Linked DNA regions of Homo sapiens: region 2 is linked to region 1. Evidence: promoter capture Hi-C in human tissues and cell types (Jung and others, 2019). All regions are on one chromosome and are shown on one strand. Each heading gives the region's core, a stretch centred on a gene start or on the middle of the fragment in contact. The rest is flanking DNA. Distances are from core to core; before and after follow the strand shown. Region 1 holds the start of POLM (DNA polymerase mu). Region 2 overlaps NUDCD3 (NudC domain containing 3).

What was found. Contacts are between HindIII fragments. The study calls those that stand out against the background at their distance.
Region 2: a fragment that was not itself captured here is called in contact with the fragment with the promoter of POLM in region 1 in 1 of the 25 tissues and cell types used here (adrenal gland).

The regions. Positions count from the first base shown.
Region 1 is chr7:44,081,280-44,083,930 of GRCh38, forward strand. It overlaps POLM (DNA polymerase mu), which reads right to left and starts at 1,251. Exons shown (of 11, transcript NM_013284.4): 1 at 972-1,251. The coding sequence starts at 1,159. RefSeq lists an enhancer at 1,025-1,525 and a silencer at 1,237-1,816. The HindIII fragment of the contact is 16,372 bases long and covers 1-2,651 here.
Region 2 is chr7:44,393,272-44,395,922 of GRCh38, forward strand. The region is part of intron 4 of NUDCD3 (NudC domain containing 3); the gene reads right to left. Among named protein-coding and RNA genes, the nearest start is that of CAMK2B, 69 kb to the left of the region's middle. The HindIII fragment of the contact is 5,065 bases long and covers 1-2,651 here.

The DNA.
Region 1 (2,651 bases), core at 1-2,500:
CTGCCTGCCACATACTTGTTTGGCTCTTGGGCAAGCCACGTGTCTATACTTTGATTTCCTCTTCTGTAAAGCAGAGATAACATATCCACCCTGTGGGGTTGTTGTACAAAGATAGTGCCTTGTACACTCTAAGCTGCTATCATCCTCTCCTGAGTGGGTCTGGCGCACTACTGATCCCTGGTAATGTTAAAAAATCAAACACAACTGTGGGGGAATACTAGCCCCAGGTTCGTTTGCTCTCTCAACCTCCAAACTAGGGGGCACCCCCAGCTCCCTTACTCTGGGTGTTGTCTCTGTAGCCGCCATTTTTTCTTCTCTTGGTTCCCTTCCTACAAGAGCTTCTCAGTCGTGTTATTTACTCAGGCCTGAGGACAGAGGAGCCTGCGGGCTCCGGGCCTCTTGAGAAGTCAGTCTCGCTCACAGGTGGGACATAGCCCAGGCAGAAGGGCTGTTAGCAAATACGACTTTTTTTTTTTTTTTTTTTGAGACAGAGTCTCACTCTGTCGCCCAGGCTGGAGTGCAGTGGCGCGATCTCGGCTCACTGCAAGCTCCGCCTCCCAGGTTCATGCCATTCTCCTGCCTCAGCCTCCCGAGTAGCTGGGACTACAGGTGCCCGCCACCACCTCCGGTTAATTTTTTGTATTTTTAGTAGAGACGGGGTTTCACCGTGTTAGCCAGGATGGTCTCGATCTCCTGACCTCGTGATCTGCCCGCCTCGGCCTCCCAAAGTGCTGGGATTACAGGCGTGAGCCACCGCGCCCGGCCTACTGCTTATTAATTACCCCTGACCTCTGGTTTTGATTCTCGCAGTGATCCTTTAAAACACGCCTCGCCCTAATTAATAGCACCCTTTACAGAAGAGGAGATGGAGGCTCAGGGAAAGGTCACAAGACCACGAAGTGCCACTGCAAACTTAGAATCCAAAACCAGAAGTGCCATGGAAGCCCTCGCCGCGCCGCGCCGCCCCGCACCTGCAGGCGTCAAGGACGCGGAAGCCTTTGGAGCGCGCCAGGCCTGTGAGGAAGGCCCGGCGGCTGCGACCCATGCGAGGCTCGACCAGGTAGATGGCGACTCCCGGGAAGCGCGTCGAGGGCGGCGTGGAGGAAGCGGCATCGCCGCTAGGGGACCCGACCCGCGCTCGCCGCCGTTTGGGGAGCATTGGGACGACAGCCTCCAGCAGCGCGGAGCGAACGCAGAGGGAAACTCCGAGCGAGACGGAAGGAAGCCCCAGTGAGGCTGACGGAAGCGGGTGGGCGGGCGGGCGGCCGCCGGCTGGAAGAGGACGTGGCCCCGCCCTATGCAAATGAGGCCTCTCCGTGGGGCTCGCTACTTGGGCCAGTCGGAGCGCTGGGGAGGGTCCGGGCTCCTACAGGATTGGGTGTCCCGGCCGCTCCGGAAGACCCGCCTCCATGCAAATAACGGCAGAGGACCCGCCTTTTATTTAAATTAATGTCTCGGAAAGCGCTGTTCGGCCCCATTGGCCTCCGGGAGGAGAGGCTGGGCTGGAGCGGGGCGGGGAGGGTGTTGGAGGGGGTGGAGGAGGCGGGGTCAAGGGGGCGTCCCCGGCTAGGGAGGGTGAACTGGGACCTAGGCCCGGGCGGAGCGGGGTGGGCTGTGTCCTTGGCGCCGGGGCTGGGTCTAGGGTTGAGCCGGCGGCTCGGGGCGGACGCGTGCGGGCTGTGCCCGATCCCTCTGCGCTCGGGACTGTCACACGGAAGCCGGCGGGCGCAGGACCGACACGCGGGTTTCCAATGCGCTGGTGGGGCGGTCGCTTCAAACACGCGGGAAGATTTTTCAGTCGAATGGCATTAGGACAACTGGCAGGCCATTTGGAAAAATAGAAGTTGGTGCCCTTCCTCATTCCTTAACACCAAAATAAATTCCAGATGGGTCAAACATTTCCATCTAAAAAGGAAACCAACAACGTACTGGAAAAAAGTCGGTGAATGTTTTTATGATCTAAATATCACAATAAACTTGGAAACACTAAAGGAAAAGAATGATAAACTGGACTACAGACAAATTTTAAATCTGATTAAAAATTAGAGTCAGAAGATAAACTGGGATAAAGTGTGAGATATTTTGGAATTAAGATTATCTCATGATAATCTTATCAAATTGTCCATAGATAAAAAGACAATAATTTAATAGAAAAATTAGCAAAAAAACTCACGTAGATGATTCTTAGAAGAAATCCTGGTCAATAAATTTATGACCAGAGTGCCCAACCTGTCCAGTCGTTACAGAATACCTAAATGAGAATATCTTCAGTTGTGGGTTTATCAAACATTCAAAAAAATTGACCACACATGTTGAAGGTGCGAGGTAATTGGCAATCCATAGGAAGGACTGTGGAAGCCAATGTGGCAACCACATCCAACAAAATGAAAACAAAATAATACACATTGATCCAGCAATTCCTTTCCCAAGATTGGGATTGCATTGAATCTATAGATCAAGCTGGGGAAATCTGATGTCTTGATAATATCAAGTCTTCTGTCTATCTTATTTAGATATACTCCATTTGTAACCTCTGTTACGGTAGTGTGGCACTGCTCAGCCTAACTGATGGGACACCAGATCAGATGCAACCCCCTTCCACATGCCTCTCCTCATCACTGCCCCATCGTCCTCAGTCTTGAGCCCCAGAC
Region 2 (2,651 bases), core at 51-2,550, 310 kb after region 1:
CACCCAGCATTTAAGATCCAGCCCTCAGTGTTGGGGTCTGTGAGACTCATGTCATTACCATAAAAACTTAAAAGACAACTGGAACTGCAGTATGAGAGCAAACGTGAGGGGTGCTGTATGTACCTAGGTGACCCTGGCTGCTTGGCCTGTCCCAGGGACACAGAGGAGGGCCCTGGCCACACCATGCCCTGTTATCAGTGGTCATACAGACACAGAAAACAAGAAAACTGGCTGCATCTGCTGTGGTCAGTGGCTGGGCTCAAAATTCTTACCAGAGTGGCCAAGAAGCAACAGAGTGGGTTTGTCTACTTTGCCCTAGATGAGCACTGCACTTTTTCAACAGAAATACTTGATCTGTGTTTAGATTTCATAATATTTACAATTGAAAGAGGTACATTCACATGCCCAAGTGTGATGGGACTCTCTGATGGGATTAAACCACTAGGTGCTCACAGAAAGGGAGAAAAGGTAGCAAAGGGCCCGCAAGTGAGAGCAGCTCTCATCCATGGAGGTGGCAGCCACCAGGACACTTACTGACCAGGTGGGCAAAACCTACCAAGCCACACTCAGGGTAACTGTGACACTCAAGAGGTCACAGTGAGTCCACAGGACACCACGTCCCCCCAAGAGGGAGCACTGGAGACTCACCAGTATACACGGGCTTGAGAGAGCAGTGTCCTAACACTGCACCTTCCACCTTCCCACCTCCAAGCTCCTGCTGCCAAAACCTACCCACACCAAAGAAGGTACTCAGCACCAGACTCTGCAGAGCCCAGGGATCAAGTCCGAGAATGTGTTCTACTAATGAAGAGGGTGGGCACCGATGTGGTGCGGGAGAGCACACAGTGGAGATTTTCCAGAACTGGGAAGAGCAAGACAAAAACCTGCAATCATGATCTGAAGCCAGCATCCCAGAAATCTTGTCTGACATTCCGAATGCAGATAGGGGGAGTGGTGAACAGGGGGAGTGGGTGGCTCCCCTACACGCCAGCTCTACCCAGTAAATGACGCTGCTCTGCCAGTGTGCAATTTAAATTTGGGATGAATCTTCCATTTCCAGATACTCTGCTAAGCTGGTTTGTCGTTGACTTTACAGTTTGTGTGACGGGGACCTGACTCACCCTCAGAGACCCCAACACTACAAACTCTACCTCGTCTTTACCAAGCTGATGCAATGAAAACCTTCCAAGAGGGAAATGCATTGTTTTCTCTATTCCAGGGAAGACTTCAGAGGAACTCACAGAACTGTAAATCTCTGGAAAGAAGAGATCCTTTACGAATTTTTTATCTTCACCAGTAGTTATTACTGTGATCCATGTAACTTATTTTATTAGCGTTCACAAGTCCTGTAAAACACATACCATTACCATTTACCATACATACCATTTTTTGTATTTAAAAATGAGGACAAACCCTTGGAAGTAAGGGCCTTTTCCAGATTGCCCAGCATGAAGAGGCAAAGCAGAGCTACACTGGGGCTGACAGCCCACCATCAGCACCATGTGGGCAGGGGGTCGGCCTACATACCATCCAGGGGACGGTGCTGGTGCTCTCAGGCCTTTTGGCACTCCACAGACCCCAACACAGGGTTTCACTGGCCAGGTCCAAACACACACCCAGAGTGGAGGGCTCCTGGGCACAGTGGGAGATGGACCTGAAGACAATGAGCCACCTGCCCAACAGGAAGGAGGGGAACATCCCCAAATCTTCTGTGTCCACAAGTGTACTTTGGACACAGAAGTACACTTGAACCCAACAAAAATTAAGATGAGCACTGCACTTTTTCATCAGAAATACTTCATCTGTGTTCAGATTTCATAATATTTACAATTGAAAGGGTATATTCACATGCCCAAGTTGTTTCAAAAATATTCAAGGTTTTCCAGTAACTAAATCAAGTAGGTTTTAAATTTAAGTTAATTAAAATAAAATAATTCAGTTCTCCAGTCACGTGAGCCACCTGTCAAGTGTTTACTCAGCTGCCACATGTGGCTAGCAGCTACTGTGCTGGGCAGTGCAGCTCTCCAAGGGGGCCATCCTCACTCACAGACGTCACGCATGTGCATCAGTGTGGTATTTTATGAGGAGATGTGAGCCGACTTTATATTGAACAATTTCTAATGGAGGCAAAATCCACTTAACACAAAACTTACCATTCAAAAGTGAACCAATGGCATGTAGTATATCCACAATGGTGCACAACCATCACCTTTATCTAGTTTCAAAACACTTTCATTACCTCACAAAGAAGCCCTGTGCCAATTATCAGTCACTCCCCATTTGCTCTAACCCTTCCTCTAAATTGTTCCCTCAACCCCACCAAGCCACTGGCAACTACTAATGATTCTGCCTCTACAGATTTGCCGGTTCTGGACATTTCACACAAATGGAATAATACAGTTATCTGTTTGTTTTTGTCTGGCTTATTTCACTTGGCATAATGTCCTCCTCAATGTTCATCTATGTTGTAGCATGAATCAGAACTCCATTCCTTTTTAAGGTTGAATAATATTCCACTGTATGGATAAACCACATTTTGTTTCATCAACTGATGGACATTTCAGGTGCCCCCACTTTTTGGCTGTTGTGAATAATGCTGCTATGAACATTGATGTACATACATCTGTTTGAGTCCCTGTTTTCAATTCTTC